Linked DNA regions of Homo sapiens: region 1 is linked to region 2. Evidence: promoter capture Hi-C in human tissues and cell types (Jung and others, 2019). All regions are on one chromosome and are shown on one strand. The core of a region is centred on a gene start or on the middle of the fragment in contact, and the rest is flanking DNA. Distances in the headings are between cores, read along the strand shown.

What was found. Contacts are between HindIII fragments. The study calls those that stand out against the background at their distance.
Region 1: a contact is called between a fragment that was not itself captured here and the fragment with the promoter of ASPHD2 in region 2, in 1 of the 25 tissues and cell types used here (lymphoblastoid cells).

The regions. Positions count from the first base shown.
Region 1 is chr22:26,675,087-26,681,832 of GRCh38, reverse strand. MIAT (myocardial infarction associated transcript) reads right to left here. Exons shown (of 5, transcript NR_033320.3): 5 at 5,355-6,746. All of the region lies in intron 1 of MIATNB (MIAT neighbor), which reads right to left. Among named protein-coding and RNA genes, the nearest start is that of MIATNB, 5.6 kb to the right of the region's middle. RefSeq lists enhancers at 1-264, 265-1,089. The HindIII fragment of the contact is 3,185 bases long and covers 3,681-6,746 here.
Region 2 is chr22:26,424,007-26,430,854 of GRCh38, reverse strand. ASPHD2 (aspartate beta-hydroxylase domain containing 2) reads right to left here and starts at 1,595. Exons shown (of 4, transcript NM_020437.5): 1 at 1,369-1,595. RefSeq lists silencers at 1,445-1,504, 1,625-1,754. The HindIII fragment of the contact is 9,826 bases long and covers 1-6,848 here.

The DNA of each region.
Region 1 (6,746 bases), core at 4,024-6,523, 250 kb before region 2:
CGAGAGGCTGAAATCAAAGACCGTGAGAGTCCACGGGGCCTCCGTCATTCCAGCCTGAGAACCTGGGAAAGCGTAAAGGCGGTTGAGGCCTGACCCCACTGCCAGAAGGTGATGTCTGGTATGAGCTCCCCGGTGGCCTGGCGTCCCTGAGATGGCTGGGAAAATGCCCCCTCAGCCCTGTGCCTCCAAGATGTTCTCTTTCCTGGGGCCTGGGCTGGAGGCTCTGGCACATTCCTTACATTCCAGAGCTTTCCTCTGGGAGGAAGCCTCCTTCACACAGGAGAGGCCTCTTGAGTGAAGATTAGGAAATCGCTAGTGTTTCAGGCTGAACAGCACCAGCTCCCCACAGCGGTCTCTGTCCCCCTGGCTACATGGCTACGCCGCTGTTGTGGGTGCTTTGCAGGGGAGGATCTGTTTATAGGCCATGGGCCAGGCAAGAGATGACTGTAGGGACTGGGCCGCCATGACTGTGGCTTCTTGAGTGCTCACCACAGGCAGGCTCAGAGGATAAAGAGGCCAGAGCTGCCGGCCAGCTTGCTCCATGACTTGGTCCTGTTGCTCCCCGGTCTAATCCTCAGGCCACTCTGTCTTCCCCCAACCCTGTTGGCCTGCCATACCTGCCCAAGGCCAAGAGAAACCATCAACACATGAAACAGGAATTGAGAGCCCATCACATGCAGACACGTTGCATATGCTCTCTTGCCAAATCCGGGTAGCTTCATTGAAAGGGACACAGTTGGGCCGGGCGCGATGGCTCATGCCTGTAATCCCAGCACTTTGGGAGGCCAAGGTGGGCGGATCACCTCAGATTGGTATTTCGAAACCAGCCTCACCAACATGGAGAAACCCCATCTCTACTAAAAATACAAAATTAGACGGGCATGGTGGCACACACCTGTAATCCCAGCTACTCGGGAGGCTGAGGCAGGAGAATCACTTGAACCCAGGAGGTGCAGGTTGCGGTGAGCTGAGATCGCACCATTGCACTCCAGCCTGGACAACAGAGTGAAACTCCGTCTCAAAAAAAAAAAAAGAAAAGAAAAAGAAAAAGAAAGGAACACAGTTATTCCCATTTTACAGATGGAGAAACTGAGGCTCAAACAGGGGAAGTCATCAGCCCTAAGTCACATAACCAGTAAGGGGTGGATCTGGCTACTCCCTAATTTGCCTGGACACCACCCACTAGAAAAGCCCAACTGACTCTTGTTTCATTCATTCAGTAAAATGTTGTTGACTCCCAACTCTGTGCCAAGTGCAGTACTGGGTACCCAGGGTACAGCTGTGAAGCAGGCTGCATTGCCCCTGCCCTTGTGGTGCTCACAGTCAGGGGAGCAGTCAATGAGCCAATAAATATGAAATCACAAACTGTGCTCAGATCCCCGAGGGCAATGAACACCCTGCAGGGAGAAGGAGTGACAGGAGAGAAACCAGCATAGAAAGAGTAACTGGGTTCGATCCCACAAGACGGAGTCAGCATTTTGGGGTGATGCGGCCCCATGGGTGTGGTGACCACCTTGAATCCAGGTTTCTCCATCCTCCAACCATGTGTCTTTGGGTGAGTTTCTTCACCTCTCTAAGCTTCAGTGCCTCCTCCTATAAAATGGGGGTGGTAATGAAACTCGTAAACTATTTCTGAGCACTTCATACATCAATGTGTCCAAACCATTCAGCACAGAGCCTGCATGGAGCAAACACTCGGAAAACAGTACCGGCCACTTTAACTCAATCCAGGTGAATGAAGGTGTGTTTGGAGGTGGAGAGAGAAGGAACAGTTTTGCCTGCAGGAAGAGCTCACAGCATCAGCGAGTTCTTGGAATAGTCTAGGCCTCAGAGGTCGATGGTTGGGGGATCCTGCATTGCTGAAAACACCAGTGTTATCAAAATAGTGAACCCTGCTGAGAGTGGCAGGATGGAATGGAAGCCAAAGGCGTACTTTGCCCATTTGGTGGAGGAGTAAGCTGAGGCTTAGAGAGGGGAAGTCACTTGGCTTGGCCTCTGTTAGGAAAAGGAGCCCTCGGCTGGGCAAGGTGGCTCACTCCCAGCACTTTGGGAGGCCGAGGCGGGTGGATCACAAGGTCAGGAGTTCAAGACCAGCCTGACCAAGATGGTGAAACCCCGACTCTACTAAAAATACAGAAATTAGCCAGGTGCAGTGGCAGGCGCCTGTAACCCCTGCTACTAGGGAGGCTGAGGCAAGAGAATCGCTTGAACCTGGGAGGCAGAGGTTGCAGTAAGCCGAGATCGCGTCACTGCACTCCAGCCTGGCGATAGAGTGAGACTCCATAAAAAAAAAAAGGAAAAAAAAGAAAAGAAGGAAGGAAGGAAGGGAGGAAGGGAGGGAAGGAGGGAGGAAGGGAAGGAGGGAGGGAGGGAAGGAGGGAGGGAGAGAGAGAGAGAAAAGAAAAGGAGCCCTCCGCAAAAATGAAGAGTGGTTTTCCAGAGTTTCTGTCCTCAGCTGCATTCTCTCCAGTCCCTATCCTTGTCCCACCCATGCCAAGTCCTACTCAATGCCCTAAAACTCTGTGATTTCCAGAGTATCCCGTAGAGCATCCAGCCCCAAATGCCCCTGAGAGGAACTGAGTTTCCAATAATAAGCAGTGAGGGTTTGGTGCAACACCACCATCTCCTGGTCGCTCCTGTGAACTACAGCTCTGGCTGGGCCACAGAGCACCTACAAAGCGGACTGGACTCCCAGGAGCTACACGACACTGACATGCAACAGACTAAATGCAGAGGCAGATATCAGAATGCAACACAATCTGTCTTCTATTAGGCCAGACATTAAAGAGATTTACCCTAAGAAAGTAAAATAATGCTGTCTTCTCACTAAATTTATTTTGCTTTGGAAAATACGGTTATTCATAATAAAGCATGTGTTATTTTTGTTAATATGCGATGGGTTTATTATTGTTATTGTGATTTTTCCATGAATAAACAAGTCTTTTTAAAACGTCTCTGTTTTAATTTACAACATGGCAGAGTCTCTACAATGGTTTCCTTCTGTCCCTGTCCCCCATCCAAATCTAGTTTCCATTCACTGCCTCTCCTGGGCTTTGCACTCTGCAGGGGTGATGCCTGTCTGCTGTGCCCTGGGCACCCAGCATTGTATTTGACACACAGTAGGACTCAACAACATTTTGCTGAATGAATGAAACAGGGGCCAGTTGAGCCTTGTGAGTGGCCAGCATCCACAATGCCTTTGAAAAAACACCTGCAACTGGGCCTGGCTGCCCAGAACACTTTTCTGAGAAAAAGGCTGAAAATGCACCCAAGTTCCCAAAGATAGGCAGGCAATCAGCTAGCACTGTGCGTCATATGGCAAGAGTGTAAAGAGCCTGAAGCCAAAATGTTTGAGAACTGCAGTGATAGAGTACTGTGGACAGGGTGGTCAGGGGAGGCTTCTCTGAACAAGTGATGTTCAGCTGAGCGCCAACAAGAAGTCAGCCACGTGAAAACCAGAGGGACATACATTCTAAGTGACGGGAAAAGCCAGTGCAAAAGTAGGTACCCAGGCGAGAGCAAATAGGTGCACTGGTAACAGAAAGGCCAGCAACCTGGCATCCCAGAGGCTAGGGCAGTGCCCACTATAAAAGAAGGACTCAGTAAACAGCTGCTGGGTGAATAGAGGGAGGGAGAGGAGGAAGAGAAAGGAGGACTGGGAGGAAGCTCTCTTCTCATTAGGGGTCTTGTAGTCCTTTGAGGGCAGGGGGGCTCACAAGTTCTGCCAGCCGTGGGAGATTCCCAACTCTTCTTACCACGCCTTGAACACTGCTGCACAGACCAGCCTCCACTTCTTAGCTCAATCTGTAACCTCCTCTGAAGTGTCCACCCTGCCCCCACCCCAATATCCTATCAATATCCTCATCTCCTACCGAACCAGTCCAATGAATCTTGGAGAAGCCATCCTGAAATGCCCTGCACCATCACTATTTTCTCCTGATTTATTGACTATTCCCCATCCTTCAAGGTTCCCCTCAAGTTTTGATTCTCCCAGAAAGCCATCCCTTACTGCCCCCACCCTCACCCCACCTCCTCCTGACCTTCTTTCCAACAGAGCACCTCTGGCCCCCAATCTCATCATCTGGTGCTAACACAGAATGAGGTTTCAGGGAACACTTGCAGGGCATCAAGCGCTGTCTTAGCTCTGCAAGAACGCTTGGGAACCTTCACAATGGCCCTATGAGGTGGGAGTGGTCTCCCCATTCTACAGAGCCGATGGAGGCTCAGGGAAGGGCAATCATCCCCAAGATCTAACAGCAGGTGTGTGGCAAAGCTGGGATTCAAACTGAGGATTATCAGTAGTCTCAATCCTAAGACTGACTCCAAAGTTCTTTTAAAACTTGGCTACCCAGAACACTGTTCTGAGAAAGAGCCTGAAAATGCACCCAAGTTCCCAAAGAGAGATAGGCAATCAACTTGCAATGTCTGTCAAGGATGCTGAAGGGAAGAGTGGCGATGTGTGTGGCTTATATTTGCCAGTCCTTCACGATCACACACTAAACTCTATCTTTTTCTCTGTCACCAAGGAACTCTTTGACTCCCCAGTGAAGTATAAGATCCCTGGCAGGCCATGCGCGGTGGCTCAAGCCTGTAAACCCAGCACTTTGGGAGGCCGAGGCGGGCAGATCACGAGGTCAGGAGATCGAGACCATCCTGGCTAACACGGTGAAACCCCGTCTCTACTAAAAATACAAAAAATTAGCCGGGCGTGGTGGTGGGTGCCTGTAGTCCCAGCTACTCAGGAGGCTGAGGCAGGAGAATGGCGTGAACCCAGGAGGCAGAGCTTACAGTGAGCCGAGACCGCGCCACTGCACCCCAGTCTGGGCAACAGAGCAAGACTCCATCTCAAAAAAAAAATAATAATAAAATAAACAAATTCCCTGGCAATAAGAACCTGGATTTCTGGAAGCACTGCCCTAGGCATAAAGAAGTGTTATTTTTTAAAAATACCACCAGGCACAGTGGTGCACGCCTGCAGTCCCAGCTACTCAAGAGGCTGAAGCAAGAGGATCGCTTGAGACCAGGAGATCAAAGCCAGCCTGGGCAACATAGCAAGACCTCATCTCTAAAAAAAAGAAAAGAAAAATAAATACCAATGGTGATAATGGTTGCACAACAATGTGAATGATACCACCAAGATGTTCACTTAGAAATTATTATGGTGGTGAAGTTTTATGTTATGATTATTTTACCAAAATTAAAAAATAAAATACCCTATTATATTGACTTCTAGGGTCACTCTTGAGGAAAGGCTGACTCACCGAGAGAGCCCACCCCTGCTCCTTGAGAATGCCACTGGCTGCCCCCTCTCCCCTAAACAGCACGTCCCTTCTGCTTCATAGGCCACAGTCATGTTTCCAGCGTGAATTGATTTTTAATAGCAAAATGGCATTTTACACAGAAGCAGCTACATTCATGGATGAAAACAAAAATCCAAGTGACGCTCCTTTGTTGAATCCATGTAAAAATCTGATTTTTAATCTACAGAGAAATTTCTACCCACACATTCGGTATCCCCTGGGGGTAATGACATGGAAAACAAACATCTTTTCTGGTCTGTTAAAGTAAAACAATGGGTCCCTGGATAGACTCTCAAGAGGGCCTTTGATGGAATGGAACCAGTCCCCCCACCCCGAAAGCATCCCCCCAGCTCAACATGTCACCATTTACACCAGCACAGCCCTCACATTGGGTCCACAGCACAACCTATTAAGAAAGGATTATAACACCTGTTCGGATTGGGAGGCCAATTCCTCAGCTCTAAGATCCTGCTCATAGCAAGCTTGATGTTCAGTAGACTCCAAAGCAGACTGAATGAGGGAGGGGTCGAAGAGAATGTGCCTGCTTGGGCTCAGCCTCCTCTAATATTGTCAAGATGCACACACACTCTTAGAATCTCACAACCATCGCCAATCTCTATGTTGGCCTAGTCCCAATCCTTCTGCCTCTGGGAACAAAAGGTTCATTACCCACCAAGGCATATTTTTCCCTCTCTGGGACCAGGATCAGCTCTTGCAAGCTTACTCCACACTTGTATCTGCCCCTTGCAGCCATGCATGACAAATGGGCTCCCTCCCCAATGGAATTATCTTATAGACTTGCAGCCTATGACTGTGTTTCCCCTGATCTTCTCCAGGGACTTCCCACCACCATGGGATGACATGTTTTCAAGATTGCTCCCCTTCCGAGCCTTTATTTTCACCTTGGTCCTCTTTACTTTCCAGTCATTGCAGAGATACTTCCAACTGGGGTAGACATGTATGGATTCTGTTTATCAAAAGATGGACCAAAGGGTCTTCCTAGTTTCAAAAAGTTCTGCTCAGTTGTCTAAAATGTGGCCAGAGGCCATTGCAAACTCCTCTGAGTTCCACCTGGGCTGGAAAAGCCAAATGGCCAGCCTAAAACTCAAATCCACTAACTCCCTTTCTCAGATCATATCCGTCGCTCCCCAAGGCCTAAGGATAAAATCTAAACTTCTTGGCAACCAGACCCGGCACCATGTCCATGTCTCCTATCTCTTGCTACATTCCACATGAACCTTCCAGAACCTCTTTGGATCCTCTCTGATCCCCAGAAACTGGTGTCCACCACTCTCGCTGCCCGGAACTCATCCCCACCCACACTCCACCCAGCCACAGCTCAGCTTAGATGCCTCCCTCTCCAGAAAGCCACCACAGGGTGGATTAGGTGTCTCTCTGTCCCCATTCCACCCCCCTGCACCCAACACACTAGAATTAAAGCTCCTG
Region 2 (6,848 bases), core at 346-2,845:
AAAGAATGTAAAAGATTCTGAACCCCAGCTTCAGACCCTCCTCCCGAGATCATAAATAGCACTGAGAGCTCAAGTTAGGACTTTTCATACCTGTCAGTCACTTTTAGCCAAAATATGCCAACAGGCCCCTGCACCCGGAGGTGGATTTACAAGCTCAAAGCTGAACTATGACAATAAAAGAAACACATTTGCAGAGTGACTGGCAGTTTATTAAGCACTGCTTCAAACATTTGATCCTCACAGCTACCTAGTGACAACTCCCCATCTACCCAGTGGGGAGAGGAGAGACTCTCTCCCCCGACAGCTCCTTGCCCAGTGACCACAGTAGCTTCCAGCTTCCTTCGCACATCTGTTCATTGTCATCTGTGTTATTTCTGTCCTCATCAGGGATGGGGACATCTCATTGCAGCTCTGCACTTTAATAATAAGCAACCCCAGATCTTCCAGCTCAGTTGGCTCTGGGGAATTGAGTCCAAATCCATGGCCAGTTGGAGAGCAAGTCCAATCCAAGACAACTTCTCACACCATGAACACCTGGGAGAGCCGGTGTCAGGCCTGACCTGGTCAGCCTAGTTCAGATGTCCATTCCCAGAGGCTGCCTAATGCCAAAGAGTGTCTGCTCACCCTCAGGATGAGGCCAAGTCACCCTGGAAGCCCCCCAGTGAGCAGCACTGGGCAAGGTGTGTGATGCCTGTCACCCTCTCCACTCAGGAGCCAGAGAGATGCCGTGGGGCCAGCCCTTCCCGGTGCAGACCTGGGGACCTTCCCTCTCTTGGCCAGCTTCTCAGCACCCACCTGCCCTGGAGAGTGGGAAAGAGGGGAGGGCTGAAGATGGGTTAGCACAGATGGTGACCACCAGGAGGTCAGGGGAGGAGGGGGATGGGACGATGGAAAGGTGAGTGTTGCCCGGAAAAGTGGACGATCAGCTCAAGATTGTGGAAGGAGGTTTATGGCGCCTCATAATTCGTGGGACAGGGGAGGAGGGTCACCACGTGAAATATGGGAAGTGGGTGATGCTGAGGGCTGGGGGAGGGGACAGGAGGTGAGGAAAGAGGGGTCACAGGGGAGAAGGGAGATGGAGGAAGGGACCACGATGGGGCAGGGAAGAGGAGTAGGAGGAGGTCTAGGGAGGGTGATGCCCGGCTCCGAGGCGGCGGCGCTTAGCACGTACGAGCACTGGCCTCGGCCGGGCCGGGATGCGGGCGCCCGGGTCCCGGAGCATCCTCGGCGGGGGCGGCGGCGGCGGCGGCGCCGGTAAGGGAGGGCCGTGGGCCTGCAGCTGCCGGGCTCCCGCCTCCAACCCCTGTCCTGGGGTCGGCCCAGCCGCGCCGCCCTCCCGCCCCGGCAGCCCCCGGAGACGAAGCTTACCTGCGCCCGGGCGCGCGGACGGCTGCCGGGACCCAGGAGACGCCGCCGCCCGAGGGCGCGGACCCGCGGACGGCCCCTGCCCGGCGCCGCGGAGCCGCCGCCTGGCTGCTGCCCAGCCCACGCCGCGGGAGCCCGAGCCGGAGCCCGAGCCCGAGCCTAAGCCGCGCCGGTGCCCCTGCCGGTGCCGACGCCGCGCTGCGCTCCGCGGGGCCGCGAAGACCACAACTCCCACAATGCCGCGCGCGCTGGGCCGCCGGGGGAGGGGGTACGGGGGGGCGGGGCCTGCGGGGCGGGGCCGGGGACCCCCCTGCACCCGGCACCTGCGCTCGCAGTGCGGGAGGCGACCCGAGGCCGCGCCCGCCGCCGCTCCGGAGGGTCCTGGCAGTGCGCCCCGAGACGCAGCGCCCGCCCAGCCCGAGGTTGCGCGCAGGCGGCGACGGGCGTGCAGTCATTCATTAAGAAAGGCTCGCGTCGCTTCCTTCGCTCTTTCGTTTTTCGCTCTGTGTCTTTCTCAGTTCTCCCTCCCTCTGTCTCTCTGTTCCTCTCTGAGTCGCCCTCGTCTCCATTTCCTCCTTTTCATTCTCTTTCACTTCCCCCCCACCTCACTTCCTCTCGCCCTAACGCCTTCTTTCCTTTATTGATGGACTCAACACGGACTTCTGAGGCCCTCAGGCACTTGGAATGGAACCGCAAATCAAACCAGATTCTTAGTCTCATGGAAAACTCATTCGCTCAGTACAGTAATGATGGGCCAGCCTGGGTCCCCGTCCCTGCCAGCTGCGCTGAGCGTGCGCGGTGAGCGCTCAGGCCCGCCCTGCCCTCAGTGAGCCACCGTCTAGCGGGAGGGGACCCTCACCCCCGGGTAGGGTTTAGGAGGGGAAGTACAGGCAGGACGGTTGTCTGACCAGGGGACTGATGAGCTGCGAATGGAGGCCCCAAGGAGGCTGCTTGGAGGAGGTGACGTTTGAGCTAAGACCTGGGGGAGACTAACAGTGGCTACGGGATGTGTTAGGGGCGCCAGGGAAACTGCATGGGTGGGTTCTGGGAGCATAGAGTAGGATGGCCCGCCCACAATCCATCTGTCTCTGTCCCAGACCCACCTCTCTTGTGTCCCAGAATTTATCTCTAACATGGCCCAGAAGCCACCTCATGTCTGTCCCAGAATCCATTTCTCATCCCTATTCCAGAAGCCACCTTCACCCTGTTCCAGAACGTACCTCCTTCCTGTTCCAGAACCCACCTCCCTCCCTGTCCCAGGACCCACCTCCACCCTGTGCCAGAACTCACCTCCTTCCTGTTACAGAACCCACCTCCTCCCTCTTCCAGAACCCACCTCCTCCCTCTTCCAGAGCCCACCTCCTCCCTCTTCCAGAACCTACCTTCTTTCTGTCCCAGGACCCACTTCCACCCTGTCCCAGGACCCACCTCCTCCCTGTCCCAGGACCCACCTCCACCCTGTCCCAGAGCCCACCTCCTCCCTATTCCAGAAGCCACCTTCACCCTGTTCCAGAACATACCTCCTTCCTGTTCCAGAACCCACCTACTCCCTGTCCCAGGACCCACCTTCACCCTGTGCCAGAACCTACCTCCTTCCTGCTACAGAACCCACCTCCTCTCTCTTCTAGAACCCACCTCCTCCCTCTTCCAGAACCCACCTCCTCCCTCTTCCAGAACGCACCTCCTCCCTCTTCCAGAACGCACTTCCTCCCTGTCCCAGGACCCACCTCCTCCCTGTCCCAGGACCCACCTCCACCCTGTGCCAGAACCCACCTCCTCCCTGTTCCAGGACCCACCCCCTCTCTGTTCCAGAACTCACCTCCACCCTGTTCCAGAACTCACCTCCTCCCTGTCCCAGGACCCACCTCCTCCCTGTCCCAGGACCCACCTCCACCCTGTGCCAGAACCCACCTCCTCCCTGTTCCAGGACCCACCCCCTCTCTGTTCCAGAACTCACCTCCACCCTGTTCCAGAACTCACCTCCTCCCTGTCCCAGGACCCACCTCCTCCCTGTCCCAGGACCCACCTCCACCCTGTGCCAGAACCCACCTCCTCCCTGTTCCAGGACCCACCCCCTCTCTGTTCCAGAACTCACTTCCACCCTGTTCCAGAACTCACCTCCTCCCTGTTCCAAGACCCACCTCCACCCTGTCCCAGTACCCACCTCCTCCCTGTTCCAGAAGCCACCTTCACCCTGTTCCAGAATGTACCTCCTCCCTGTCCCAGAGCCCACCTCCACCATGTCCCAGAACCCACCTCTCATCTCTGTCCCAAAATCCACCTGGTCCCTGACCTAAGAATCTGCCTCTACTGTGATAGCCTAAAATCCACCTCCTCCCTGTTCCAGAACCCAGTTTGTCATGTCCCAGAACCCACTTCTTCCATGTCCCAGAGTACACCTCTCCCATGTCCCAGAATACACCTCTTCCATGTCTTAGACTCTTCTTCATCTCTGTCATTTCTCTCCTTTTCTCAACTCCAAAAGAGGAAGAATGTTTTTTCTCTTTTATTCTACTAAAATAAACCAAAACACTTGCATTGGGAAACCATAATATGCACAGATTTGCTCAAAGTGTGGATAATCAACACAGGCATCAGATTTAGAAACATTAAATGGGATGTCTGTCTTCACTGTCAGCCTAAGAGTGGTTGAGCCTGGGTGGGGTGGAGAAAATGGAGTGGGGGGTATTTGACTCATCTCACATTCAGAAAGTTGCTCAAACTTAGAATTCTCCAAAGGCAGTCATACATTCTATCACAGCATTATCCTGGCAGGTTTGAAAAAAAAAAGATATTTTTATATTGTAAATATGTGTTCCATTCCTGCACCATCTTATCTGTACTGTATTATGAATTAATATTGTCTATCAATCCTATAAGTGTCCTTGACCAGTGCAATTATATGATATCTGTAGACCACTGCTCTGCATTTGTTAGTATTTATTTGTTCAATGGCAATATTACTATACACGCAATTTTGTTAGCCCTGCTTACCATTTCTTCATCTTTTTAATTAGCTGGGAGTCTCAATAAATGGAAATGACCTGGGCCTCTGTCAACCCCTTGGAGACCCTACTAGGTGAATTCTGCAGAAAAGGATATCCATGCCTTTCAGAGGGGGATTTTGGGTGAGAGCTCCAGATAAATTGTTACTGTGCTCATGGAGAGGCGGAGAGGAGGACCAAGGGCATCTGAATTGCCTGCCTTCAGCTTGGCTGCCACCTGCATCCTCCTGCTCTCGCTGCCTTCTTTAGCGCAGTCATCCTACCCACTCCGAGACTACACAACCTATCATTACACCGTCTCATACACTCACGGGGTCCACTCAACTCCCTCCTCCTACAGATGGAAGCCCAGAGAGAAAACATGCCTTGCTCAATCAAGGTTGCAGCAAGTCAGTGGAAAATGTGCTTGCGGCCAGCCGTGGTGGCTCACATCTGTAATCCCAGCACTTTGGGAGGCCGAGGCCAGTGGATCACCTGAAGTCAGAAGTCCTAGACCATCCTGATCAACATGTTGAAACCCTGTCTCTACTAAAAGTACAAAAAGTTTTGTATTAATTTTTGTATTAATTAACTACAGGTGTGGTGGTGCACGCCTGTAGTCCCAGCTACTCTGGAGGCTGAGGCAGGAGAATTGCTTGAACCCAGGAGGCAGAGGTTGCAGTGAGCTGAGATTGCACTACTGCATTCCAGCCTGGGTAACAGAGCAAAACTCTCTGAAAGAAGAAAGAAAGAAAGAGAGAGGGAGGGAGGGAGAGAGGGAAGGAGGAAAGGAAGGAAGGAAAGAAAGAAGGGAGGGAGGGAGGGAGATGTGCTTGCTTGGTGCATTAAAGAAACTGGTATGATCACTTTGGAGAGCAGTTTGGTAGTATTCCTTAAAACAACAACAAATATGTATACACTGAAACCAACAATTTCGCTATGCTATATCTAACCTAGAGGGATTCTGGGATAGATGGAAGACTAGTTGTTTTTTCATATTACGTAATACTGTGAAGCTACTAAAAGCAGGAGCTAGATGTATATATAGCAACGTGGATAAAGCTCCTAGAAAAATAATAGGGTGAAAATTAAAAAAAAAGCAGAATTATGATTGTAGTATGATTTTATCTACATAACACGCACCTGTACACATGTGGGTATACACATGTATTTATATAAAAGCAGGGAAAGCACTAGAAGAACACACTAGTATGTTCTCCTATATAAAATGCAAAATAATTACGTTTGTAAATGCAGATAATATCCCTCAGAGGAAGCACACCAAATTCCTAAGAGTTGTAACTTCAGGGGGGACCAAGAAGGAACAAGGAATTGGGAGCAGTAGGCAAGGGAAACTCCAGCATTTTTTGTGATGTTTTAATTTAATATTTTCAAAGGTGTTTAAATACTCCGGAACAACATGCAGAAAGTTACTGGGACCGCGTCACTCTCCTATCCCTCAACCAGTTGGTTTTCTTTAGTGAAGACAGCCATTATAACAAATTTCTTATTCATCTTTTCAGGAATACGCTTTGCATTTGCAAATATTTGGAAATAGCTTAACTTTTAACTTTTAAAAAGTAAGTTTCACTTTTAACAAATAAGTATTAGTATGTTATTTGTGATATTAAAATGGTTTTTAAAGCCGGGCATGGTGGCTCACACCTGTAATCTCAGCTACTTGGGAGGCTGAGGTGGGAGGATTATTTGAGACCAGGATTTCAAGACCACCCTGGACAACATAATGAGAGCTTGTCTCAAAAAAATTTAAATAAAAGAAAAATTTTATTCACATTAAATATTATTTTTCAAGAATGTAGAATTGTTCAACATCAGAAAGTATTTTAATAGAATTCATTCTGTTAACAAAGTAAAGGAGAAGAATGACACCATGATCTCAACAGATGCAGAAAAAGCATTTGACAGAAGTCAAACATCCATTTATGATTAAAACTCCTAGAAAACTGGGAATATAAGAAAATTTTAGGCCGGGCACGGTAGCTCACACTACAGGTGTGGTGGTGCACGCTATAGCACTTTGGGAGTCCAAGGTGGGTGGATCACCTGAGTCCAGGAGTTTGAGACCAGCCTGGCCAACATGGTGAAACCCCATCTCTACTAAAAATACAACAACAACAAAAAATTAATCGGGCATGGTGGTGGGTGCCTGTAATCCCAGCTACTCAGGAGGCTGAGGCAGGAGAATTGCTTGAATCTGGGAGGCAGAGGCTGCAGTGAGCCCAGATCATGCCATTGCACTCCAGCCTGGGCAACAAGAGCAAAACTCCATCTCAAAAAAAAGGAAAGAAAAAGAAAAAAGAAAACTTTAAAAAATTGTATAAAAGGTATCTGTCAAAACCTACCATGCTACAGGTTAATATTCTTCATGAGCACAGACACATGCATCATTAACAAAATAATAACTAATCAAGTCAAGCAACATTAGAAAACATAACATGTGTGTATAATGAAGAATTTAGCTCGTCTTTGTCCCCAATT